Regions from separate parts of the Homo sapiens genome. Here all the other regions are linked to region 4. The links are contacts of gene promoters, found by promoter capture Hi-C in blood cells and fetal thymus (Javierre and others, 2016). All regions are on one chromosome and are shown on one strand. Each heading gives the region's core, a stretch centred on a gene start or on the middle of the fragment in contact. The rest is flanking DNA. Distances are from core to core; before and after follow the strand shown.

What was found. Contacts are between HindIII fragments. The CHiCAGO score rates a contact against its expected background, and 5 or more counts as called.
Region 1: a fragment that was not itself captured here is called in contact with the fragment with the promoter of AKIRIN2 in region 4 in 1 of 17 cell types (M1 macrophages); the score reaches 5.1 in M1 macrophages.
Region 2: a fragment that was not itself captured here is called in contact with the fragment with the promoter of AKIRIN2 in region 4 in 2 of 17 cell types (megakaryocytes and erythroblasts); the score reaches 6.7 in megakaryocytes.
Region 3: a fragment that was not itself captured here is called in contact with the fragment with the promoter of AKIRIN2 in region 4 in 2 of 17 cell types (total CD8 T cells and naive CD4 T cells); the score reaches 5.8 in total CD8 T cells.
Region 5: a fragment that was not itself captured here is called in contact with the fragment with the promoter of AKIRIN2 in region 4 in 2 of 17 cell types (erythroblasts and total CD4 T cells); the score reaches 6.9 in erythroblasts.
Region 6: a contact is called between a fragment that was not itself captured here and the fragment with the promoter of AKIRIN2 in region 4, in 1 of 17 cell types (monocytes). The highest score is 5.3, in monocytes.
Region 7: a fragment that was not itself captured here is called in contact with the fragment with the promoter of AKIRIN2 in region 4 in 1 of 17 cell types (non-activated CD4 T cells); the score reaches 5.5 in non-activated CD4 T cells.

The regions. Positions count from the first base shown.
Region 1 is chr6:88,933,510-88,937,133 of GRCh38, reverse strand. The region is part of intron 2 of RNGTT (RNA guanylyltransferase and 5'-phosphatase); the gene reads left to right. Among named protein-coding and RNA genes, the nearest start is that of RNGTT, 28 kb to the left of the region's middle. The HindIII fragment of the contact is 1,557 bases long and covers 660-2,216 here.
Region 2 is chr6:88,892,095-88,896,254 of GRCh38, reverse strand. The region is part of intron 6 of RNGTT (RNA guanylyltransferase and 5'-phosphatase); the gene reads left to right. Among named protein-coding and RNA genes, the nearest start is that of RNGTT, 69 kb to the left of the region's middle. The HindIII fragment of the contact is 1,581 bases long and covers 532-2,112 here.
Region 3 is chr6:88,963,788-88,967,609 of GRCh38, reverse strand. No RefSeq gene overlaps it. Among named protein-coding and RNA genes, the nearest start is that of RNGTT, 2.1 kb to the right of the region's middle. RefSeq lists a silencer at 3,695-3,822. The HindIII fragment of the contact is 1,429 bases long and covers 1,169-2,597 here.
Region 4 is chr6:87,700,815-87,704,545 of GRCh38, reverse strand. AKIRIN2 (akirin 2) reads left to right here and starts at 2,313. Exons shown (of 5, transcript NM_018064.4): 1 at 2,313-3,096. The coding sequence starts at 2,862. RefSeq lists enhancers at 1,742-2,051, 2,362-2,421 and silencers at 2,582-2,751, 2,932-3,141. The HindIII fragment of the contact is 11,354 bases long and covers 1-3,731 here.
Region 5 is chr6:88,871,944-88,875,963 of GRCh38, reverse strand. The region is part of intron 8 of RNGTT (RNA guanylyltransferase and 5'-phosphatase); the gene reads left to right. Among named protein-coding and RNA genes, the nearest start is that of RNGTT, 90 kb to the left of the region's middle. The HindIII fragment of the contact is 1,147 bases long and covers 895-2,041 here.
Region 6 is chr6:88,916,726-88,920,881 of GRCh38, reverse strand. The region is part of intron 4 of RNGTT (RNA guanylyltransferase and 5'-phosphatase); the gene reads left to right. Among named protein-coding and RNA genes, the nearest start is that of RNGTT, 45 kb to the left of the region's middle. The HindIII fragment of the contact is 615 bases long and covers 1,718-2,332 here.
Region 7 is chr6:89,357,977-89,361,826 of GRCh38, reverse strand. No RefSeq gene overlaps it. Among named protein-coding and RNA genes, the nearest start is that of UBE2J1, 7.2 kb to the right of the region's middle. The HindIII fragment of the contact is 6,763 bases long and covers 1-3,850 here.

The sequences.
Region 1 (3,624 bases), core at 189-2,688, 1.2 Mb before region 4:
TGACCTCACGTGATCTGCCCGCTTCGGCCTCTTAAAGTGTTGGGATTACAGGCGTGAGCCACCGTGCCTGGCCCATCAAAGACTATTATGAACAAGTATACACTAACTGGAAAACCTGGCAGAGGTGGATAAGTTCCTAGATATATGCAACCTACCAAGATTGAATCAGGAAGAAATAGAAAAGCTGAGCAGACCAATAACAGGTAGGGAGATTTAATCAGTAATGAAACATTTCCCAACAAAAAGTCTAGGACCGGATGCCTTCACCACCAAATTCTACCAAACTTTTAAGGAAGAACTAACACCAATCCTCAAATAATCCTGAAAAGATTGAAGAGGAGGGAATTCTAACTCATTCTGTAAAGCTAGCATTATGTTTATACCAAAACCACAACAAAAAGAGAAAACAGGCCAGTATCTCTGATGCAATGATGGTTCAGCATATGCAAATCAATAAATATGATACATTACATCAATAGAATGAAGGACAAACACCATGTGATCATCTCAATAGAGTCAGACAAAGCATTTGATAAGAATCAACATCCCTTCATGATAAAAACTCTCAACAAACTAGGCATAGAGGAAACATAACTCAACATAATAAAGACCATATATGACAAGCCCACAGCTAACGTCATACTAATTGGGGAAAAGCTTTCAGCTTTTGCCCTGAGAATTAGAACAAGACAAGGATGTCCACTTATTCATCATGGTATTGGAAGTACTATCTAGAGCAGCCAGGCAAGAGAAAGAAATAAAAGGCACCCAAATTGGAAAAAAAGTCAAACTGTCCCTCATTGCTGATGATATAATCTTAAATCTAGAAAAACTTAATGATTCCACCAGAAAACTCTGAGATCTGATGAGAAATTCAGTAAAGGATACAGAATCAACATACAGGCTGGACAGTGGGTCACACCTTTGACCCCAAAGTGCTTTGGGAGGCTAAGGTGGGAGGTTTGCTTTAGGCTAAGAGTTCAAGAACAGACTGGACCCCAAAGTGAGACCCCCATCTCTACAAAATATTTTTTAAAAATGTAAAAGTTATCCAGGCACAATGGTGTGTTCTTCTAGTTCCACCTACACAGGAGGCTGAAGTGGGAGGATCACTTGAGCCCAGGTGTTCCAGGCAGTGGTGAGCCATGATTGAGCCACTGCACTTCAACCTGGGCAAAAGAATGAGACCCTGTCTTTGAAAGAAATACACAAAAAAAGAAATCAACATACAAAAATCAGTAGTGTTTCTGTATGCTGATACTGAACTAGCTGAGAAAGAAATCAAGAAGGCAATCCCATTTATAATAGCTACAAAAATAGTAAAATACTCAGGAATAAATTTAACCAAGGAAGTGAAAGATCTCTGCAAGGAAAACTAGAACAGTGATGAAGGAAATTGAATGGAACACAAACAAATAGAAAGACCTCCATGCCCATGGATTGGAATAATTAATATTGTTAAAATGACCATACTTTCCAAAGCAATCTGCATATTCAGTGCAATCCCTATAAAATACCAATGACATTTTTTATAGAAATAGAAAAAACTCCTAACTTTTTAATTTTATTAAAAAAAACTTTTTTTAAAGATGGGGTTTCACTGTGTTGCCTAGGCTGGTCTTGAACTCCTGAGCTCAAGCAGTTCTCCCACCTTGGCCTCCCAATGTGCTAGGATTACATGCATGAGACACTGCACCCCACCTGAATCCTAACATTTTTATGGAACCTGAAATGAGCCTGAATAACCAAAGCAATCTTGAGCAAAAGGAACAAAGCTGTGGGCATCACACTACTTTACAGTGTATTACAAGGCTATAGTAACCAAAACAGCATGGCATTGGTGTAAAAACAGACTAATGGAACAGAATAGAGAATCCAGAAATAAATGCATGCATTTACAGCCAACTGATTTAGACAAAGGCACCAAGAACATACATTGGGGACAGGACACTCTTTAATAAATGGTGCTGGGAAAATTGGATATCCATATACAGAAGAATAAAACTGGACCTTTATCTCTCACCATATACAAAATCAAATCAAGATGGATTAAAGACTTTAAATGTAAGACCTGAAAGCAGAAAACAGTAGTTTTGAGATGAAAACATAGGGAAAACACCGTGGGACATTGGTTCAGTAACAATTTTATGGCTAAGACCTCAAAAACACAACTCAAACAACAATAGACAAATGGGATGATATGAAACTGGAAAGCTTCTGGACTGGGTACAGTGGCTTACACCTGTAATCCCAGCACTTTGGGAGGCCAAGGTGGGAGGATTGCTTGAGGCCAGGAATTGGAGAACAGCCTGTGCAACAGAGTGAGACCTTATTTCTTGGTGGCACATACCTGTGGTCCCAGCTACTTGGGAGGCTGAGGCAGGATGACTGCTTGAGCCCAGTAGGTCAAGGCTGCAGTGATTCATATTCACACCACTGTACTCCAGCCTGGGCAACGAGTGAGACTCTGTTTCAAAAAATAAAATAAAAAAGCTTCTGCACAGCAAAGGAAACAACAGAGTGAAATAACAACCTACTGAATAGGAGAATATATTTGCAAACTATTCTTCTGAGGGATTAGTATCCAGAATATACAAAGAACTGGAAACAACAGGAAAAAAATCCCATTAAAAAGTGGGCAAAGATGTGAATAGACATTTCTCAAAAGAGGACATACAAATGGCCAACAGATATATGAAAAAATGCTGAAAAAAAGCTCAACATTACTAATCATCAGGAAGATGCAAATCCAAACCACAATGAAATATCATCTTGCACCAGTTAGAATGGCTATTTATGACTAGGTACAGTGGCTCATGTCTGTAATCCTAGCACTTTGGGAAGCTGAGATGGATGGGAGGATTACTTGAGGCCAGGAGTTTGAGACCAGCCTTGATAACATAACGAGACACCATCTTTAAAAAAATTCAAAAAATTAGCCAGGCATGAGGTATGTGCCTGCCATCTTACCTACTCAGGAGACTGAGGTGGAGGGATCCCTTAACCCCAGAAGATTGAAGTTACAGTGGTGAGCTATGATTGTGCTACTGCACTCCAGCCTGGGTGGCAGAGCAAAACCCTGTCTCTCTCTCAAAAAAACAAAACAAAACTATTATAAAGACAAAAACCAACAGATGCTGGCAAGGATGTGGAGAAAAGAGAACTCATATGCTGTTGGTTGGAACGTAAATTAGTACAGCCACCATGGAAAACAGTATGGAAATTTCTCAGAAAACTAAAAGTAGAACTGCTATACGATCTAGCAGTTTCACTACTGAGTATTTATCCAAAGGAACAGAAATAATTTTATCAAAGGGTGGATGAATGGATAAAGAAAATGTGGCATATATACACAATGGAATACTATGCAGCCATGAAGAAAAAATGAAATCATCATTTTGCAGCACATGGGTGGAACTTGAGTTTATTATGTTAACCAAAATAAGCCAGACACAGAAAGACAAATTCCACAGTTTCACTCCTGTGGGAGCCAAAAAAGTTGATTTCATATCTGTAGTCCTAGAACTTAGGAGGCTGAGATGAAAGGATCACTTAAACCCAAGAGTTTGAGGTTACAGTGAGCTATGATTGTGCTACTACATTCCAGCCGGGGCAACAGAGTGA
Region 2 (4,160 bases), core at 73-2,572, 1.2 Mb before region 4:
TTGTGGGTTGGGAGGGCAGCCCTTAAAGAGAGTTGTTATGCCAGTACCCACAGTGGATTTCTGCTTTACTACAGCTGAGTGGTATAGCTGAAAGGAATTAGTGTAAACACAAGAGGGCCTTTTGAAAGAGATTAGGAAAGCAGTGAGGAGGTATAGAACAGTAGTTTAAATTACTGCCATGGATCTTGGGCTGTGGGAGAATAAGTAGCTTTAAGATGACATGATCTGTCTAGGGAGAGCTAGCTTTTAGTTGAGACACGGTACGGGGTGTTCAAGAAAATGGTTGAGGTGATGGGGAAGGTTATTTATGAAAAAGGAATTCCAGGGTTTACATTGGAACTCTTTGGGAAGGTGATTATTGATAAGATGAACCAAGGAAAAGGGGCTTTAAAGCAGTGAGTACAAAACCATCAGAGAAGAAAGGGGACTGAAGAGTTGAATTGTGGATGGTGTCAACTGTAGTTGACCTATGGTTGACAGGGATGAGAAGCACAGATATAATTACTTATTACATTTATGGTTGGAAAAGCTTTCATTTTTCTTTTATTTCCATCTGAGGTTGAAGATAGTTAACAGAGGCAATCTAAGAGTGACTATTTTATAGATCACATCTCTTGACATAATGAAGGTATTTTTGGTTTGAGACTTTATTTTTGTTAAGTACAGTCTTTTCTGATTCTTATATTGATATAACTATGTATTCAAGTAATGGACTCCTTGTAATTAATTCTGATAGTTCTCTTTGGGTTTATAACTGTGGCACATGTCCGATGCTGTGCTTGGCCCCTTACATTCCTAAGACACCTTCTTTATTCATCTTTTGAGTACATGTGTTACTAAGTTGGAAGAGTATGACTTACAGGTATGTTGCTTACTCCTTGAACTGATGTCTGAGATCATTTCTTTGAATACAACGATGAATGTATTTTCCTCATTATGAAAATATGCCTGTTGTACGTATATTCTTGTATACATTTTCTCTTTACACACACACACACACACACACACACACACACACACACACAGAGCTCTCTCTCACATAAATTGCCTCCATCTTCTGTAATATTTACTAAATTTCTGTCTAAAGGATCACTCATTTCTGTTGTGATAGCCATGCAGATTTTAATTTTAAGGCTAGCTGACTCTGTTTATGAAATATATTTCTATAAACATACTTTTTTAACTTTCGATTTTTCTTTATTTTCACAAACAGAAATAATTTGTTGAAAAGTGAAAATAAATGTCAGTGACTTTAATACTCAATTATAGTATGTTCACAATAATTCCAGACCGAAGACATTGCTATTTAAAATTTATTTTTAAAATTAATTATTTATTTTTTATTTTTATAAATAGAGATGGGTCTCACTGTGTTGCCCAAGCTGGTCTTGAACTCTGGGGCTCAAGCAGTCCTCCTGACTCAGCCTCCCAAAGTGCCGGGATTACTGGCATGAGTCACCACATCTGGCCACTGTTTAGAATTAGTGATCTTTCCATTATAAAGATTTAACTATTTTATGCTGAAGTGGCCATATTTTCAAGGAGTGAAACCATCTCATACATAACAATGAAGGTAGTCAGCTGTAGACTTGGAATGAGATCACATATGGGGATGATATCCTTCTAGTTAGCCTAGTACTGCTGTACTGGTCTGTGTGTACATGCGGTCCTTCAACTCAGGCCTTGCAAGGCATGCCGGCTGTGCCATGTTTGTAAATGGGGCAGAGGAAGCTACAACAATGGAAAACTAAGCTGTTTATGTTAGGTACAGCTATTAAAACAAGGTAGGGATGAGGCTAGGCCCTTAACTTCCCTAAGGCATACTTTTCTAGCTACCTTCTGCCCTGTGTCTGGCACCTACATCCTGGATGATTGTTCTCTTTTATCCATTGTGGATTTTTAAAATAAAATAAATATGAAAAGCATCTTGATCTCTTGTTTGTGAGAGGTGATGCCCTGAGATTTAGCTTCAGGAATATGTCATGGCTCATGCTTCCCATATTTCCCAGGGAGGGAAATACAGGATTTTCTAACACTGGTTAAAAATGCAAATTCAAGATTTGGAAGGGCTGATATAATGAAATAATGAGCAGTATCAGCACGTGCAAAGCTTGTTTAAAAGATTTTATTTTCTCCCCTCTTAGACCTTTTGCACATTTAGAATCTTGAAACAGTTTCTAGATCTCTAACATGAAAATGAAGATGGGTATTTTCAGGTTGCTTTCAGCTCTAGGTAGAAATAACCAGAATTGGCTTACATTAAAGAAACTGCATCTAGAAATAAATAAAAAAATTAGTGGTCTTTCTTGGAGTTATATAATTTTGAATAATATAAAAATGGTATTTTGTCAGAACTATTGTAGTAACATTAAATAGCAAATTATGTTAGCCTAAAGTTACCAAGGATGATTTGTGTATGAAGTGTATCATACTTTTTTTTATTGGACTTCTACCTTTCTTTTTACTTATTTGTTGTGGAAGAAAATAGAGGAAGTTAAAAAAGAAGTTGATGCATGGTAGGAAAGATTAAGGAAGAAGAACAATAAATGGATGACAGACATTTACTAGGTGATTGGGGTTAACTTTTATAACCAGACTCAGTAGTTGTTAGATCTGTACTGATGCTCAGTATTTATTGGCTCTGTTAAATTAAAAATATTCAGCTTTTTCAACCCCATAGAAATGTTATTAAAATATTTCTGTGGTAATATTGTGGGAAAGTGCTTGGTTGAATGTGATCATATTTTCTATGTGTTAGTCCTTTTTATTATATGTTAAAAATATAAATAGTGTTTGTGTTTTTAGTAGTAACTTAGGTTAATTTGGCCTTTGCTTTTATTTTGCCCATTTCAGAAGTTAATGTAAATTTCTTAACTTTGCATAGGAAATCCACGTTGATAAATGAAGCTAGAGACTTTCTTTGTGTAAAACTTAAAAAGAACATCTCATGCTGTTAATACCATCAGAATTAGGATGCTTAATATTGAACTCTCTAAAAAGAAGTGTTCTTTTTTAATTAGCATAAGAAACAATTTTTTAAGGATATTGAAATTATCTGAGCACTCAATAAGTAAATATGTTACAAACCTCATCTATCTGGTTGAGCTTTCTTTTAAAAATACTCTTTTTTTCCTTTAGCTGTTGTACTTAATGATAAAAATGGTTTTAAACAGAAATGCCATTGGCTAGTACAGAGAAATAATGGTATAATAGTAGAGGGATGGTACTCTTTGATCCTTGGGCTTATGAAATTCCTAAATTTTGGTTATTTAAGGAAAGCAAAGTAGAAGACAGATAAGTACAAAAAGTGCTTCAAAATTAGGGACAAAAAGTAGGACTAGTGTCTGCTGGAAGGACTCAGGATTCTTCCAGATTTGACAAGAATGTATGTGGATGAAGTATTAATTGTTCTTTTTTTCTTTTCTCAAGTGGCTCAGATTGCCAGGTCTTTGCCAGAAGGTTGAACGTTGTAGCTTGTAGACTAACTTTTTTATTGCCTAATTACATTAACAGCTAGAATTGTTTTATAGATTTTTCTTAAGACTGATGCCAGTCCCTTTATGGACCTTAAAAGAACTGTAGCATACATCTAGACTATTTTTTTTAGGTTTAAAAATTTCCAGAAGGGTTCCTTATTTGTTTGATATTCTCTGTCTGCTTTACTTCGCTGTGATATTTCAAAATATGTAGTTCTGAGTTAAAAAATTTAGATTAAAAATTCCATGATGAGTAATATTTTGTTCTATTAGTATGTTAATATATCCAATGACTGTGGCTTAGCCACTTTGCCTACACTCTTACTCTGGTTTACAAAGATAGAGGTTTTGGTGTTTATCCCCTTAAAGTCCATACTTCATTCATAGTAACACAGCTCCTTTCCCCTTCTCTCCATTGGTGGTTGGTATAGTGTAGGCCTGTTCAAATTCTGTCTTTTACCACTTGATTTACATAAAATCTTTGTGCCTTATTTACTCATCTTTGAAATAAATACAGTACAGTCTATTTTTTCAGTGTTGTAAGGATTAGAGAGAATGTTTGCAAGATGCCAGACATTCTGCTTGGATCTCAATAAATGGTAGATAAATTATTATTACTGTTATGATTTGAGAAGTGCCTATAGAGTACATACGTATATTGAAGAAAACCATGTGCTGGATTTA
Region 3 (3,822 bases), core at 634-3,133, 1.3 Mb before region 4:
AATTAATGACATGGTTAGTTCCATATGTCCCCAGGCCTTATCAATTGTGAAGCCAGCAAGTCAGATAGTTCTCAAAACTCAAAAAGCAGTTTATAACATTAAAACATTTAGCAAGACTAGTACCTAACCTGCATAATTTAGTCCACCTATTTACATTTTGATGACATCTGTTTTTTACCAATAATCTTTAAGGCTGTTTTTATTTCTCAAAGATTAAAGTCACATGAACTGAAAGGTACCACATCTTTTACCTTCCCTTTAAAAAATATATGATCTAAGCACTTGTCTTCCTTTAGGCCAATTAGAGTTTTTTTTTTTTTTTTTTTTTTTTTTTGAGACAGAGTCTTGTTCTGTTGGCCAGGCTGGAGTGCAGTGGTACAATCTCAGCTCAATGCAACCTCTGCCTCCTGGGTTCAAGGGATTCTCCTGCCTCAGCCTCCCAAATAGCTGGGACTACAGGCACGTCACCACACCTGGCTAATTTTTGTATTTTTAGTAGAGACAGGGTTTCACCATGTTGGCCAAGCTGGTCTCAATCTCTTGACTCTCAAATGATCTGCCTGCCTTGGCCTCCCAAAGTGCTGGGATTACAGGCATGAGCCACCACACCTGGCCTTAGAGCTCCTTTTTTTTTTTTTTTTTTGAGATGGAGTTTTGCTCCTGCTGCCCACGCTGGAGTGCAATCTCCACCTCCCAGGTTTAAGTGATTCTCCTGCCTCAGCCTCCCAAGTAGCTGGGATTACAGGCATGTGCCACCATGCCTGGCTAATTCTGTATTTTTAGTAGAGATGGGGTTTCTCCAAGTTGGTCAGGCTGGTCTTGAACTCTCGACCTCAGGTGATCTGCCTGACTCAGCCTCCCAATGTGCTGGGATTACAGGTGTGAGCCACCGTGCCTGGCCTTTGAGCTCTTTTCATAGACATCATGTACACAACATATATATAGCTACACAGACAGGCAGAAGAAAACCAGTCCCCATAAGATCCTTTTTCACAACCAAACTTTAAGGAGAATATAAACAGGGATCCTTATCATTCCTAGCCTAGTGAAAAAGAAAAAAAACATCTGGTTTAAAAGTTAACTGTTGATGGGGTGAAGAAAAAAGGATGCCTGGGGGAATAAACCTTTTATTCTTAGGCAAATGGTTCCTCTACCAGGGAGAGAAGCTTATCAGATGGAGTTGAGCCTTGGCCAGGGAAGGGGAAGATGCTGTGGACATGTGGCATTCCCCAGCCCCAGCTGGGAGGGGAGAGGGAATGAGGAGCTGCGACTTGCCTATCCTTCCCAAAAAACGAAGGCAAAGGCCATGGAAAGGCCCCTGACCCCAGGGAGCGATGGGAGTGGGGGCATGGTTTCCCTACCCTCAGAAGTCCACGCATGAAAAGGCTTAGAAATGACAGTGAAAAGTTTTGAGTCCCCGTGTCACTCAACCGCTTCTCAAGCCCCACATTGGGTGCCAAAGCTGTTGTACGACTTTCTCCTTAGTTCAGCTAAGAGCTGGGTCCTGGTCACATGGCCATGAAATATTAGGCTCACAGATGCCTTGAAGGGTGAGAATGGAATTTATTGGGCAAAAAGAAAAAAAGGGAAACAGAGACTCTCCCCAAAGCCAGAGTGCTTCCTGCCTGGTAGACTGAATCCCAGGTTCCACCTAGGAAAAGGAGGGGCCAGGCTCCTCCCCACTGCAAATGGCGCAAATTTCCCAAGGCTCCACCACAGGGTGCATTCCTCCCAGTGCTCAGGTCAAAAGGAGATTCTGCCAAGGAATCCTTCCCACCTGGCTGTCTTACCAGCACTTTGGGAGGCTGAGGTGGGAGGGCTGCTTGCAGGAGTTCCAGACGAAAAAAGTATAAAAAAGTTAGTGGGGTGTGGGGGCCTGCACCTGTAGTCCCAGCTCCTTGGGGGCTGAGGTGAGAGGATTGCTTGAGCTTGGGAGGTTGAGGCTCCAGTAAGGCTGCCCTGATCATGCCCACTGCACTCTAGCCTGGGTGAGAAAGTGAGACCCTGTCTGCAAAAACAAAAGATTTATCTACATATCAAAGTGAAGAGGAAGGATTAATAAATATAGGTTTTTCTCAAGGAAAAGTCCTAGGAAAAGGGAAGACAGATAAGATCTCTCTCTTTTGCCAAAAGAGAACGTTCAATCTTATTTTTTACATGTACACACTCTTCCTTATGGGCAAAATGGATGTTTGATGAAAGACTCACCAATGAAGAGAATCTACATCTGATAAAGAGGAGATCAAGACATATCTGGGAGGGTGTCAGGGGTTCCAGGAAGCGGGGGAGGAATCATGTTGGTCTGTCTGTGAGCATCTATTTTTCTTCTCACAGAGTAGTAGAAACTTGGGACTAGGAGCAATATAGGCAGAAACACACATCAGGCAAGGCATTCCTGACAGGCAGAGAGAAACTGCCTGCTCATCGGGATGCCACTCTCCTACTCTACTCTCTATTGTGGACAAAAGGTAGCCACAGGGTCCTCCCAATTCTGTGGCAATGAGTATGGAGAGGGCATAACTGGATAGCAGAATAAAAATCCAGTGCACATTGCTGCCTTACAGCCAATAACAGTTGCTCGCCAGTGGTATGAAGCTTCTGTGTGCCTAGGACTGAGCTACTGGGTATAGCGTGTGTGGGAAGGGGAGTCACCAAGGGGAGTCATCCCCAGAAGGGGAAGGTAAGATACTCTTCCAGGATCAGGCTCACCTTTCCCATCCTTGGAGGGGGTCTGGGGATGGAAGGTTTTTACCACTTTGGGCATGGTACACACTCTATCAGCAGAAAAGGGAATTCATCGGAGATTATTTGGGTAGACTGATGGCCTTAAAGGAAACTGGGTATTATCTTGTTCTGTCAGGGGAGGAGTTTACACCTTCACTAACAGTTCTGAGCAGATGCAACAGCAGGACAGACCAGAAGTGTGACCTAACTCAGGCTGCCTCAGAGAGATTGCTGTTGGACTGCCTCTATTGATGGGACTCTTACTGAGGGGGTCCAGGCATTCAGGGGGTTGAGCGTCCCAGAAAGTTCCCCACCGACGCTTTAAAAATGTATTCCCTGCAGCCTTACGTTCTTGCAGTTCCAATATAGCATTGGTGTTTAAAGCCAAACTACATTATAATTGATTCGCCATCATCCAGCTTTATATTTAACACTTTAATCTGGTAACAAAGGAAAGGCTCGTTAAAGGACGGCATTTATAAAAATTTTTCAAGCACCTCTGCTTAACTCGAAGGGAAAATAAAAGGCACTGTTTATTTGGTAGGCCAAGGAGAACAACGCCACGAAGAGGTTCTCCACTGATCAATTCCTACCTTTGTCAATTATACCACATTAATTAGTAACTTTTTTTGGAGACATGGACCCTCTCAAACTCCCCAGTATGCTTTGAAACTTTGATCCAGAAATGTACAAACAAAACTCTAAGTGTTCTGGAATTAATTTCAGAAGCTTCATAGATCCTCGTAAGTACTCACCAAAAGAAAAATTCCCCATTTCTGGTACTCCAATCTCATGTCCTTAGAATTCTCCTAAGACTTGTTCCCTTGAACAACTTTCCCTAATTGCAAATCAAACCTAGATCCGGCTGGGACGCCAAGCTTGAGCTGTGGTAACGCTCAGAAGGCCTCTTTTCATCAGTAAAATAGATGCCTTAACGGAAGTGGCGGGCAATCTACGCATGGAAAGGCGCTTGGCTTCCCTCTTTTTTGGGTTTCTCTAGGTTGTCTGGATGGGAAAAAAATACACGCTTCGTCCTGCGGAGTTCGGTACGAGGGCAATTGCACATGCGCAAAGGCGAACCAGTAGCGTCCGGGCGCG
Region 4 (3,731 bases), core at 1,064-3,563:
TTTTGTAGAGATGAGGTTTCTTATCATTGCCCAGGCTAGCCTCAAACTCCTGGCCTCAAGTGATCCTCCCACCTCGGCCTTCCAAAGTGCTGGGATTACAGGTGTGAGCCACCGCACCTGGCCCAAATTTCCTTTTTTGTATAAGAATACCAGTCATATTGGATTAGGGGCCCATCCTACTACATTTAGCTAATTACATTTGAAATAATCCTATTCCTAAGTAAAGTCATATTCTAAGGTACTGGAGGTTAGGACTTCATATGAATTTTGAAGTCCTTGAATTCCCTCAAACATAGGGAATTTAACTCACAACATCACATTTCAAATGTAGGTTTTATAACTTATGGGCAAATCTTAATTTCAGAAAATATTACCAAGTGTTTAGAATTTACTAGAAATTTACCTAGTAGGTGTCTTAGTTAAGCTGCTGTTTCATTAAATGCTTATCTTTTTCAAAAGATTTTCCAAATGTAGGAAATGTAGGATATTTCCAAATATCCTAAATTAAAACTAGAAGGGCTTACTTGTTGACACAGTGTGATCAGGACTGCTGATCTCTGAAGCACTGGACAATTCTATAAAATTGTCTATAAAAAAGAATATATTGAACTACTTCTAAATATGGTTTAAAAATAATAGACAAAATGGCTATAAAACATCTGTTACTGAATAAAGAAGAATACATGAGCACTGGAAATCAGTATTTATAATCATTTGACAGTTGGCATTCACAAAATTGTTTCATATTGCACTGGTGATAGTTTCTACATATATCACTTTTTTTTTTTTTTTTTTTTTTTGAGACGAAGTCTAGCTCTGTCACCCAGGCTGGAGTGCAGTAGCTTGATCTTGGCTCACTGCAACCTCCGCCTCCCGGGTTCAAGCGATTCTTCTGCCTCAGCCTCCTGAGTAGCTGGGACTATAGGTGTGCGCCACCACGCCCGGCTAATTTTTTTTATTTTTAGTAGAGACAGGGTATCACCATGTTGAACAGGCTGGTCTCGAACTCCTGACCTCGTGATCCGCCTGCCTCGGCCTCCCAGTGCTGGGATTACAGGCGTTAGCCACCGCGCCCGGCATCATTTTCTTTTCTTTTCATTTTTTTCAGACAGAGACTCGCTCTATCACCCAGGCTGGAGTGCAGTGGCAACATCTCGGCTCACTGCAACCTTCGCCTCCCGGGTTCAAATGATTCTCCTGTCTTAGCCTCCCGAGTAGCTGCGACTACAGGCGCGCGCCACCACGCTCGGCTAATTTTGTATTTTTAGTAGAGACGGGGTTTCACCATTTTGACCAGGCTGGTCTCGAACTCCTGACCTCAGGAAGATCCGCCTGCCTCGGCCTCCCAAAGTGCTGGGATAACAGGCGTGAGTCACCATGCCCGGCTACACAGATCACTTTCTAAATTAGCGCTGTATTTGATTCTTATTTTAGGTATGTGACTAAAAGTACAACTTCTAGAAACACTTTTTTCCCCTTCCGCTTACAAAATGGATCCATCCAATATCTATTACCTAAACATTTCACTGTCTTTTGATTAGTTTTGTAACAAAGTTCACAATATATGCACCAATATTCAACAGAAGTAATGCAATGTCTGATACCACTTGCTTTTTACCCAACGCAAAACAATTTGATTCTGTAAGTCGTTCAAGTCCTATTCATTTACAGAAGCAAAGCTGGCTTTACAGAATTTCATTAGTGGATGAAGCAGCTACCTCCGAAGGGTAGAGCATCGAGTTGAATCAAGGATCCTGTAACCTGATACTATTACTGTTGTTCTGTCTGCCAGTCCTAAATAGGTTTCATAATCTCATTATCTCCTATCCTCTCCATGTGAAAGGTCTTGTTTTGGGTACTGTCGCTACCGAAATTAAGCTAACTTTGACTAGAGATTGGTTTATTATATTTCCCAGATCTGAAATCACTGTGGGAGCAACTATACGGAGAATCTTAAAAGATTTCTATGTCGCTTAGCCTGCTTTTGCCACGGGTTCGCTTTCCCATCTCCCACTGTCTCAGAACCTTCTCTTTTTTTCTCTTTTGCTTAGTTCCTCTTACACTCAAGCTGTGTAGGGGGATTTAAATTCCAACCCGGAACTCGGAATCGCGCGCCTTGCATGACGGAAGTCGTAGTTTCTGTGACTCCTCCCTTCCCGCCTTTCAAGCCGATTCCTCCCGGTACCTAAAAACTACAACTCCCAAAATGCATCCCCGGTTTGGCCCGCCCCCGTGCGCAAGCGCTCTGAGGCCGCCGGATTTGAATCGGCGGCGTTGTTATTGACGCCATATTGGGGCCGGCGGCGGGTGGGAGAGTTCTACGAGGGAGGGGAAGCGGTTGGACGTGTTCGCTTGGGTTCCTGCTGCGGCAGCTACCTCGCAATCTCTCTGCATCGATCGCCGCTCGCAAGCTACTGACCGTACTCGGGCGTATTAGGAGCCGCGTTCCAGCCTCACACCCCACGGTGCTGTTTTCGACTTCAGAAAGGATCTAGTCTCAGCACAGAAGCGCCTCAGGCGCGGCGCAAAGCTCGAGCGGACGGCGGGGGCGGCCGGAGCCTCTCTCGGGGGAGCCGCGCCTGAGGAGGCGGAAGAACCCCCCTGACGCGACTGGCGTGTGCTTCTGCCCGCCACCGCCCCTCCCGCTCTCACCCGGGCCGTCCCTGGCCACTGCCCCTGCCGCGGAGGCAGCGGCGGCAGCGGCTCTCCTTTCCACAGCCGGCGCTCCGCGACCCGCTTGGCTCCTGAGCCCGTCGGGTAGGCTCTCCTCGAGTTCCCGCTCTTCACCCCTTCCCTCACCCTCTTCTTTCGTCACCCGTCCCCGACCCCACCCGAGCCCGGCGCCTCAGCTGCCCCCGGCCATGGCGTGCGGAGCCACTCTGAAAAGGACTCTGGATTTCGACCCGCTGTTGAGCCCGGCGTCCCCGAAGCGCAGGCGATGTGCGCCATTGTCGGCGCCCACCTCGGCCGCTGCCTCCCCGTTGTCGGCGGCCGCGGCCACCGCCGCCTCCTTCTCCGCTGCGGCCGCCTCGCCGCAGAAGTATCTCCGAATGGAGCCATCCCCCTTCGGCGACGTCTCCTCCCGCCTCACCACAGGTGGGACCCGGCCCCGCGGCCGCCGGGGTAGTGGAGAGAACTGGGAACAGGGGTCCTGGGGTGTGGGATGCGGCCCCTGGGGTGGGGGTGCCGGACTGTGTGGTTCTTGTTCTTAGCAAAGTAGTAGGGCAGCCACGTTTTTCACTAGGTCCTCGTAGCCCGAGGACCTAATAAGACACAATAGAAATGGGCTGATGTCAAGGGGATAGTGTTTGGAGGTGGGTAGGGGCTTTGCCTTGCCCGTATTGGGTAGAACAGGGACATCTTTTTCTTTGGGCCGAATGATTGGAATTGTTTCCGTAGTCGCTGGAGCCCCAGCGGAAATGATCAGAGAGGACGATATTATTCGTAAATTTAGGCGAAAGGGTCACATTTCACCCCAATCTGGATGTGTGCTTGCCGTAATCGATTGGTTGCAGCTATTAACTCTGGGACTGGGTGGTTTGAGGCGAGGCTACAGCCCCTCCTTCAGTTCAGACACGGCTGATTTTAGTATAGTGGGGGTGGGGGGTGGGGGATGGATGTCACTAGGGCGAGATCTAGGCCTGTCATTAATCACCCACAAGAACGCCACTTTGGCTGAGTCAAGACCTGTTTCCCTAGCAGGGTCAACAACAAAGAAAATGCTCTTCCCG
Region 5 (4,020 bases), core at 219-2,718, 1.2 Mb before region 4:
GCAGTGCTTGAGTGTACATCCTTGGCAATTTGGGGTAGTTTCACTTAATATAAGTAATGTAGCCAAGTTGACAATTGGAAAATGAATTTTTTTCTTAAAAGATTTTATTGATGTAAAAATTAAAGGAAAATGAATTTTAAAATTGCTTTGATTAGCAGTTTTTTTTGAATACTAGTGTGGTTGCACAAGTTCATTCTGTATTTTGGCTATAGCAACAGTTATAACAAGTAATACTTGTTGAACACTTAATGTGTATTAGGCATTGTTCTGAGTACTTTACATAGAACATTTATCTCATTTAATACTCACAACGCTGTAAGATAGCATTGTGAATAAGTAGCTTTTTCAAGGTCACAGACACAGTTATTGTAAGTAGCAGGACTGAGATTTGAATGCAAGTGATCTGGCCCCAGAGCCCAGAATCCTTTTTGCCAGGTCATGTCCTCATTATTTTTTCAATATTTTGATAGTTATTTTTACTGTTTTATGCTAATAGATGAATTTTTCTGTCTTAAAATATATTTTTTCTGATAATGTCTTCTGTCTTCCTCATAAAACATTAAAAAGAAATTAAAAAGTTCTCCCTGTGAGAACTTTTATCCCACCCCTTGGGATAATCAATATTAAGAGTTGGATGTTTGGTTTCTCGAGACATTATACCTTCATCTTCTTACCTGCTGTTTTCTTTCCTTACTTTCTGATCCTCCATATAATGGGATATGATATAGGCTGTTCTCTTATAAATAAATAATAGAAAAACTCTATTATTTTTTTTTCAAATTGCTTTGTGATGGTAATTCAAATTGCATTGCTCCTTTCACTTAATGGGATAATAAATATATTTGCAGACAATATTTACTGCTTTAATAGATAACTGTTAAGCTACTGTAAGCTTTAGAAGGTCTCAAAGACAATACAAGACACTAGAGGAAAGTAAAAGTACAATTCCTACTCTCAGCAGGAAAATGAAGTACAATTTAAGATGTAGTAAGAGATATAACAAAACTATGTATAGTACCAGACAACTAAGTAAGAGATACTAAAGAGCTAATAAAGAGCATTACTTGATACTGTATATGAAATATGACTGCTTGTTTTGATTTTAAGAGTGTGATATTGGGTGTTCATAGATGGATTTTTAAATTTTATATAGGAAATAAGTAAGATATATTTAGTATTGAATATTGATATTTAGTATTGAGTAGTGCTGCTGACCAGATGGAAGAACATTTGCTTTGACCCATCTCAGCAGTAGAGCTTATCTGTTAGATGAGGTGTTAACTGGATTTTCATATTTTTTTTTTTTACGATTCTGTGATACTTTCTTAACTCATTATTTGCTCACATACTCTTATTCATTATGTGTGATTATGGAAGTGGCAAATGCTGGCTTGGATAAAAAAGGGGAAAAAACTTTATCCTCTTTGTGAATCTGTGAAAAATTGTTTGAAATAATTATAGTTGATTTTTCTAGAATGCATGCTTTATACAAAAGAAAACTGAAAGTAATCAGCGAGTCAGGGACAAATGTAAAATAAAACTTTTGGGAAAATTCTTTTGATCTTTTCTTTTCATGAAGATGGATTACTTTATAAAAATTAAAATGTTGTTTACATGCCTCTGTGATAGGTAGTGCTGCCCAGAATACGTTAAGTGGCTTTTAAATTTTATTCCATATCAAGGTAAATCTTTAGAGCAATAAATGTGGCATACCCTGATGGAAGATCACTTAAAAGAATGCTGTATTTTACATATTTAACTTGTATTGCTACAGAGTTCTGAAAAGCATAACCTGTTACATAAATGGTAATTAATGCAAATGAGTATATCATTTGATTTTACACTTTGAAGTCTAATGAAGACACTGTACATTCTCATTATGAGAGCTACTTAATCTGAAAGTAACTAATTAAAATAACCAAGAGAGGCTTCTTATATACAGAACTGGTTGATTCATGAGATTTATTTACTAGTATTGGAACCAATTACCTGATCTGTGCTACGAATAATAAGTTTGCAGTGTCCTGTTATTTTGCAAGCTTTTCAAATTCTCTTAATTAGGTCAAGATCAATGAGTATGTCTATATCTTACTAAACCTATCTTATTATTAATGGTAGTAGTTGAAACTTTTTCTAACTTGGACTTGATAAGCATTTTAGTAAAAATTTCTTTTTTGCCTTGTGATTCTGGTCTTATAATGAAAAAATGATAATGTCTTAAAAATGTGTTTCCCCATTATAAAAGTCATTTGTATTCATTGTAGAAAAGTTAGAAAATGAAGATAAGGAACAGGACAAACACGAAAAACATATGTAATTTCACCAGTTAGAGATGGTTGCTGCTTACATTTTGGTGTGTATGCTTTTAGACTTTTCCCTCTGTCTATATATATTTTTTGTTTCATTGACTAAATGAAAAACATATTCATTCCACAATTTTTTAAGTGTCTGTTATGTGCCAAGTACCAGGTTCTCTTATTTTCTTCCTTTCTTTTTGTTGAATTACTTATTCTGGTAATTATGCTTTTGTCAATAGTACATACATTCTTGTTCTCTGCCTGTACCTTTTCATGACAAATTGTTCTTGGTTTATGGTTGTGATAGCTTCTTGAATCTCTATGAGAATACTAGTTAAAAGCATATTTAAAGTTATCTTTCTCTTCCTTGAATCATCTTTCTTCTTTATGTTTCTAGTTTCTTCAAATGTGTGGTGATCCTTGGTTGGCTGTGCATTTGAAACGAGGCAGAGAAGCTGCTTGGAAGCTCCATGAATGTGGGCTGGGTTTGTCAATTTCTGACCTTTGCTTTATGATAAGCAGTTGTGCTTAGGTGCTCTTCCCTCACTACCCATTTGGTTCAGTTTCTTTTACTTTCTTTCTTTTTTTTTTCTGTTCACCCTCCCACCCTGTTTCAGTTTCTTTAGAGAAGAGCTCTCTGATTTTTCTTTTCTTTTGCTTGAGGAATAACCTGTGTGTTGTGTGTATGAGTTGTGAGAATTTAATTGTTGTACATAGCTAAAAATAACCAATCCCTCCTTTTCAGTCCATATGTCACTGTAGTCATCCTGTGCACTTGATGTTTCTGGGTCTGGATCTTCTTTGGGGTTTTGTAAAATAGGCACCTCCATCTGTGAATCCTGCTACCTCTGTGCATGCTTCTCAGCACTTTTCAGTACTTCTCCGTCTATTTCTTGTCAACCAGAAATTTATTGAAATAGTGCATCTGCTGATGCTCTTTTCTCCTTCCCTTCATTATCTTCATTGTTATAGCCATTTCTAATAAATTACCCTAAAATTACCCCAAAATATAACAGTTTAAAATTCAAATATTTACTGTCTCATCGTTTCTTGGGAGCAGTGTGGTTGGGTGAGTCTTTTTTGTTTTTCTTAAATCCATAGCCTCAAGCATTTATCCCTTGTTACAAGCAATCCAATGATACTCTAAGTTATTTTGGAAAGTACAGTTAAGTTATTGTTGACTATAGTCACCCTATTGTGCTATCAAATAGTAGGTCTTATTCATTTATTCTTTTTTTTTGTACCTATTAAGCTGGGTGATTATGGTTCAATGTCGTCTATCAGATTGCAGTCAAGCTGTTGGCCAGGGCTGTTGTCATTTCAAGGGTCCACTTCCAAGCTCATGTGTATGGTTGATGGCAGGCCTCAGTTCCTCAGCTGGCTGTTGGCATGAGACCTCCATTTCTTACCAGTGGGGAGGAAAAACTTTCCTGTACCCACTTAGGTTCAATAGTTAGGGGCCTACAAATTAAACTGACAAAACATAGATTAGCAAGAGAAAAAACAAAGTTTATATGTGTATGGAAGCACATAAAAGAAGTGGCTTACAAGATGGTTGAAGTTAGTATTCCTAACTTAATGGGACTATGCCTAAAGTTTGTATTCCTAACTTAATGTCTCAAGTTTGTATGTCTAATTTAATGGTGGAAAGGGAAGGTGGAGAATAGGCTTCAGTGTAAGAAAAAAAATGGAATTCTTTAGGAAGGATAAGTGGATTTTTAGA
Region 6 (4,156 bases), core at 776-3,275, 1.2 Mb before region 4:
TATATCACTAGGTTCTATAAATTTTATAACCTGTAAACACTCAAAACAATTAGAAGTTTTTCTTATCAGTTCTTCTAAGAATACAACTGCACAATTTATAACAAGGATGAATTTGTTTTCCTAAACCTGGAGTATGAATCTTTCTAAAATCATGACATCTAATGCCAGAGGTTAAAATTGCTTGACTGCCCTCCTTTGAATTCATTAAGCATATTTAATGTTTACCCCTATAATGGCTTCTCTCAAATGAGAAAACACTTCTGTGAGTTGTTTTTACTTATTCAGATAAAGGCCTCAGTATTACCTTAAGCTGTGTAGGTTCTAGTCATATACCTCAATATATGTGTATGTATGTGTGACTGTTATATATATTCATATAAATGTATGAATATATATACACACATCCTTAACATATTTCATGTATATCTCATAATATTGTTCTGTTAAATAATAGCTGCATACTGTACCATATAAATAACCTGCTTTTTTCAAAACAACAAATACAGTATAGTAACTGTTCACATAGCACTTACATTGCATTAGGTATTATAAGTAATACCTAGAGGTGATTCAAAGAAAACGGCAGGATGTTCATAGGTCATATGCAAATACTATGCCATTTTATACAAGGCACTTGAGCACTGAGCATCGGAGGATTTTGGTATCTGAGGGGGATCCCAGAACCAATCCCCTGAGGAGTCTGAGGAACAACTGCATTAATTTTTTTTGCCTTTATTGTATTATATTAAATAATTTTTTAGAGACCAGGTCTGGCTATGTTGTTCAGGCTGGACTTCAACTTCATCCCACAAATTGTAACAATTAAAATTGTCTCTAGACATTACAAAATGTCCCCTGGGGGGCAAAATCTTCCCCAGTTGAGAACTACTGAATCCTCGGTGCAGTGGCTCACGCCTGTAATCCCAACACTTTGGGAGGCCGAGGCGGGTGGATCACCTGAGGTCAGAGTTTGAGACCAGCCTGACCACCATGGTGAAACCCTGTCTCTACTAAAAATACAAAATTAGCCAGGCGTGGTGGCGCATGCCTGTAATCCCAGGTACTCAGGAGGCTGAGGTAGAGGTTGTAGTGAGCCGAGATTGCTCCATTGCACTCCAGCCTGGGCAAAAAGAACAAAACTCCGTCTCAAAAAAAAAAAAAAAAAAAAAAAAAAGAACTACTGACCTAATTAGACTGATCAAATAATTAGGATTTTTAGCATTAAAAAATTTATCTAGCTAGTGAGATAGAAATAAAATTGTGGGCCAGGTGTGGTGGCTCATGCCTACAATCCCAGAAGACCAAGGCCAAGGATCTCTTGAGCCCAGGAGTTCAAGACCAGCCTTGGCAACATAGAGAGACCCTGTCTATACCCCCCACACCCTCCAAAATAGTGTATGTTGAGATCAGGCTTTATTTAAAAAGATACATTGTCACCAGCCCCTTTATAAACTGCCCCAACATGTATAGCTATAGCTAATCTCTCTGTCTATTTGTTGGGGAGTTTCTTTCCCTAGTTTGATTGTAAATGCCATATACATTTATTTCATTATATTAGCTTGCCTGGAAAAATTTGAATAGAAGTTGCCTTGAAATAGTTAATTGTGAGCTAATATTTAGTTAAAAACTGTGGCTTACTTACCACTAGATGGACCCATTCTCATGATGAAGAAAACTGAAAATTGCTTTAAACAAAAACTGAAGACGTATCTAAGCTTGTAGTATACCTAATTAATGGATTTTTTAATATCAAATACATAATCTCCCACATTTTTCTATAGTGGTTTGTTTTGATGGTTTTGTAACTTTATAACCCTATCTATAAATGTTTTGATGTATAACTGAACCATTAGACTAAGACTTTTTGTATTTGCATATAAAGAATATTAAAAGGAAAATGGTACTTTCCTAGATTACATATCTTCACATGACATATTAGCTAATTGGCAATTATTATTACATTTCCTATTCATAAAAATATTTAATCTTGCAAGAGTAAAAATTGGATACAAAAACAGTAGCTTAGGTGAGAAACATCGAAAGTTGAAATATTTGTTGCTTGAATTGGTCTGAAATAGAAGATAGTAAGGAAATTTACATGTTGGGTTAAGATACATGAATACAAAAATGTGTTTATAGTGCACATCTTTGTGTGGCTTTTTTGAAGCACTTTTTCTTACAAAGCAATGGAGATAATGGAATTTATAGATTTTCTTGGTCATAGCTATTTATTTCTAAGTGATGTCTTCAGTTCAAGGCTGATCTCTTTGTTTTTTATTTTCTTCTTTCAGAAACTTAATTTCACTTATATCGTTTCTATTATTGTCAAGCTTTGTGGTTTAACTAGGTTCTTGTCCTGAGCCTGTAAACATACCTAAACTTGTTAAATAATCCCCTCCCGCTGAAAAAAACCCCGTACCCTTCTTTCTGTTTTGCATTCCCTCTTCCCTTTCTCAGCTGACTTTTTAAAAGAATCTATACTTGAATCCATTTTTTCCTATCCACTTTGTTGCAGTCTGGAGTCCTCCCTCAGCACTGTTTTTTGTTTGTTTGCTTTTTAAGACTGTGTCTCACTCAGTCATCCAGGCTGGAGTGCAGTGGTGCAATCATAGCTCACTGCATCCTCGACCTCCTGGTCTCGAGCAATCTTCCCACCTCAACCTCCCGAGTAGCTGGTACTACAGGCACTTGCCACCATGCCTGGCTATTTTTTAAATTTTATTTTTTGTAGAGACAGGGTCATACTGTGTTGTCCAGGCTGGTCTTGAACTCCTGGCCTCAAGTGATATTCCCGCCTCGGCCTCCTAAAGTGCAGGGATTACAGGCATGAGCCACTGCACCTGGCTAGCACTCTTAATCAAATAGTGATTTTCCATTCTAATCATTATGTGACATCTAAGCACTCATAACTTAGAAAATTTCCTTTACTTGGCATACATGACCCTGTGTTTTTGTTCTTTGAAGCCCATCATGGTTCATTCTCAGTCTTTTTTTTGAGATGGTGTCTCGCTCTGTCGCCCAGGCTAGAGTGCAGTGGCATGATCTCAGCTCACTGCAATCTCTGCCTCCTGGGCTCACGCGATTCTCCTGCCGCAGCCTCCCGAGTAGCTGGGATTACAGGCAACCGCCACCAACCCCAGTTAATTTTTCTATTTTTAGTAGAGATGAGGTTTCTCCATGTTGGCCAGGCTGATTTTGAACTCCTGGCCTCAAGTGATCCGCCACCCTCAGCCTCCCAAAGTGCTGGGGTGGGGATTACAGGCCAGAGCTATAATCAGCCGTGGGAGTGGTTTTTCTAAACTCTGATAATTTTATTGCCATGCTTAAAATTCTTTACTATATCTCCATTGCCTTTATAATCTTTAGTATGTTTCACAGGTTTTTTTAGGATTTTGACCCTTTCATTTTCTCCAACTGCATTTGGCATTTCTTACCACAGCTCATATTCTAGCCATTCTGATTTATTTATAGTTTGCCATATGTGCTTTTTTGATTAATATATTTACATTTGCACAGATTGTTCCTACTGTCTGCAGTTCCATTGTATAAATATCCTTTTTTATTGAGAGTTGTTCAATGACTAAGGTTTTTATTCTAAATATTAATGGTCATTTTATTATACCAGGAATGTAGAAATTGGTGATTTGGCTCAATTGATAGTTGTTTTCAAAAAAATTTTAAAAGTAGCATGTTTTGTGGTGGGCAGGCCTATGCAAACCTATTCTCAAAGTCCAAGGAAGCAAAGAAACCAAAGAAAGAGACTGACAAATCCGGTTTCTTAGAAAGATATATTTAATAGGGACTTAAAAAGAAACCAGTCCTGCTTGTCAGGTGGCAGTGAGATAAGATGGTGGATCCCCACCATTACTCCCAAGGCCAGGGCTTATAAACCACAGGAAACAGGTGATTCAGAAGGGTTAAGTAGAACAAGTAAGTACAATCACATCAAGGTTGTTTTTACCTTTGGGCAGGATTTATAGTTAGGACATGCTCTTACACAAAGAACAGTAGATAAACTAGAAATCTTAGAGGCCTTCCCAGAACTGGGGTTAATCAGAAGTCAACATAGGCAGATTAGCATCCAAGATGGAGTTGCTTTGGCCTCCACATAGTAAAAAATTTTTTTGGAAAGAACTCCTACCATAATATACAAATG
Region 7 (3,850 bases), core at 1,298-3,797, 1.7 Mb before region 4:
ATAGTGAAACCCTGTCTCTACTAAAAATACACAAAATTAGCCCAGTGTGGTGGTGTGCGCCTGTAATCCCAGCTACTCAGGAGGGTGAGGCGGGAGAATCGTGTGAGCCCAGGAGGCAGAGGTTGCAGTGAGCCAATATCGCACCATTGCACTCCAGCCCAGGCGACAGTGCGAGACTCCATCTCAACAAACAAACAAACAAAAGTTTATTTTACTTTTCTACCCTTTTCAATCTGTTCGTACCAGGGAACTATTTATAAGAGTGTCGCCTAAGAATGTTTATATTCTCTTAACATGTCATCAGGAACAGTAGAATATGTGAGAAAAATCTGATGGTAAATGCAAAACTCTTTCACATCATTCAGAATTTTGAAAGGCTGGGTGATTTTAAAATGTGTCATACTTGTCCTAGAGGTCCTCAAAAGACCTACTTTTATCATAAATTACAGTTAAGTTCAGGCAGTGATCTTATTTCAGTTGTATCATCAGTATTTTGCAATAGTCCTGGGAAAGTGAAAATATAAGCTCTAGTAGTCTCGTTCATGATTTTAAGATACCAATTTGAAGTATCATATTATTCCAAGAAACAACTTAATTCCAGGATTTAAAAAAAAATCCAAAACAATATTGTTAGAACAGTGCAACAAATATTTACAAGTCAATAGTCTTTTCTTTGTAGAATATTACATTTATGGTTTCAATAAATGATTTAGCAGTTAAAGCTGAGATGAAGTGTGGTTCTCATATTCAATCTTGAAAAACTAAACCATCTTTAAAAAGTAGAACGTCCATGTGAACTCATGCCTGAAGCCATGTTTGAACGCTAGATAAAATTGCCCTGGGACAGAACTGTAGTTCACCTTTATGAAATCAATTTTAAACTTGTTATTGTGAGCCACAATAAATACAGTTCACATTGCAAACTATCACACACTCATACAAATGTTACTAAAAAAAACTTACCAAGTTATATCCTCTCTACATGCAATGCATTCTGGTATTTTCTCTTTCATTTGCTTTTTTTAAAAAGATCTCACAATCCACTAATGAGTCACAACCTGTGGTTTGTAAAGTAGTGTTAGAATGAACCCATTGGCCACATCAGAAATATCTAAGGATTTTCTTTCCAACCTAAAATCTTTTCCTTCTCTGTTAATTAAGAGATCTTAACAAATGGGAAATTCTGAGTAAGTTCCTGAATTTTTCTTTCATTTGATCATGGCCTTCTAGTGTTTACTAAAGTGGTTTTTCTTTTCACTGCCATCCTTGGGTATTTTTGTATGCTGGGTTGTATTACGGGTGAAGGGTTGATGGGGTTGTAGGCCTGAGAGGATCATTTTTATTACAGACTCTATCCTTGACTATAATATGATAGCGTTACATGGAGTTTAGTGACTCATGAGCTCATGTCTGACTCCTAAGGGGTCCTTTGTTAATTCAGATGACATTGGTCTTATCCGTTATCAAGAATCCATGAGTTTGGCTGGGTGTGGTGGTTCATGCCTGTAATCCTAGCACTTTGGGAGGCCGAGGCGGGTGGATCACAAAGTCAGGAGTTCAAGACCAGCCTGACCAACATGGTGAAACCCCGTCTCTACTAAAAATACAAAAATTAGCCAGGAGTGGTGGCACGCACCTATAATCCCAGCTACTCAGGAGGTTGAGGCAGGAGATTCGCTTGAACCCGGGAAGCAGAGGTTGCAGTGAGCCGAGATCGCGCCACTGGGCGCCAGCCTGGGCAACAGAGCGAGACTCCGTCTCAAAAAAAAAAAAAAAAAAAAAAAGAATCCATGAGTTTGCCCTTTTGTGCTATTTTGAAAGGGAGCTGATCCAGTGACTACACTCAGGAGGGTGGGGGCATTAACTGGTGTCCAGCTGCCTGAGACCTTGACCATCTTGCTTCCTCAATCTTTCCTAATAAGCTCCTGGGGCCAGCAGGGTTATTCTATTCTTCCAAAATTGAGAGTCATGAAACCAATCCCCCTCTCATGAAAGGCCAACTATGATAGAGCAATTTAAACCTCAGTCCCATGCTAACCCTCATCACCACGTGGAGAATTCCATTCCTACAAGCTGCTTTTGTTTGCCTTCTGCTTTCATTATTGCCTAAGTCCCTAAGAGGGCTGCTACTCAGTTTTCTCCCCTCTGGCTTTGCAGAGAGCTAAGCCCCATAGTACTCAACTTTCCTCACCTAGATAGCCAATAACTTGGAACTAATTCTGGCCTTCTCCCAGACTGCTTATAAGGTGGCCTTGGTAATTAGGCTTTTGTTTCTTTTCCCTGGGAAGCAGTGCAGTAAAGGGGGTGACTGCGGGAGACAGTCCTATGTATCTTTCCATCTCCGTAGGAGAGGAAGGAATTCACTTAGCTTTATAAGGTGCAAGAAACGGTGCCACCAATACACATAGTACTGTTTCATTTAATGCTCTAGGCCCATATTTTCCAAAGTTACCTGATTTTATGAATCATCTAGAGTGCTTAAGGATGCAGATTCCCAGCCCCATCCCGGTCTTCTTGAATCAGAATCTCCAGGGAGAAATACAGAAATCTGTATTTTTAAATAAGGACCCTAAACAATTCTTATAATTTGTGAGACACTGTTTTCTCTGTAGTTGTTTAAAGGGATAGGGAGGGGAAATGGTAGGGGATTAGGGTTGCAATCACCTAGGGGAGCTTTCTTGCATCCTCCATACCTACATACACATCAACACCCCAAGTGTTAGCATTTTTTCCAACTTGATTATGCAGCTTTAAGAGTTTATATTATTTAACCTATATTTCAAATGTAGACTTTTGTGAATGTAAATAATTTTAAGTCTATTTAAACCATTTATTGATTCAGTATTTAAATACTCATTTACATCTAATAGCACAAATTATGCAAATGGTACTAATTTAGAAAAATTGGTTTTTCCTCAAACAATTTTATTCAAATACTTCACATGCATCGTTTACAACTGGGTCTCTATCATCACTGAAACAACATTGTGAGTCCTCTAACAGTTCCCTCCTAGTTATCTAAGGTAGAGCATGCCTTACATTGAGTAGAATGCTGTCAGTGGAGATTTTACTACATCTCGAGAACCACTTGTTAAACATCAGGGTTTTTTTCCTACATATTCATAATCACCATAAATAAGTACTTCTTGTATTTCTCTGTTCAATAATTATTTAAAAGCCTACTTAATGATCTCCAATACTTGTTATCCAAAGTCATACCCTCAGGAATAATTAATCAATATGTCTTTGCCTTTTTTCCCCTGATTTTGCTAGGTGACCTTTATAAGACAGAAAATTGCCATTACTTGTGACCCTTTCACGACATATTGTCTTCCTGAAGAGTATTTTGTTCAAAAAGGACAAAGACAAAAACACAAGGTGACTCTCTTTTCTGAGGAATGATATTTTTGGAAAAATTTTGCTTTCCATTCTGCATATATGGTATATATTACTATTTAATAGCATCTGTACCCACCCCCTTTTTTTGCATAGAGACAGGGTCTCACCATGTTAGCCAGGCTGGTCTTGAATTTCTGGCCTCAAGCGATCCTCCCCTCCACCTCCACCTCCCAAAGTTTTAGGATTACAGGTATGAGCCATCGCGCCCAGCCAGCATCTGTACCTAGACCCAACTTGAATTCCCCAAAGAAGTTAAACTGGCTCCAGTATTTTCTCACAAGATGCTAGAAGGCAAATTGTGGCATACCTATACCTTCTGGTTGGTTAGTGCTGAAAAAAGTACAGGACTACTTTTGAGAAGTTGACGATGTGGTTATCATTCAAAGTTTGCCTATAATTGTAACTTGGGTTTTAATGGGAAGCAGTGTAGTACTGATTGTTCTGAAGACAA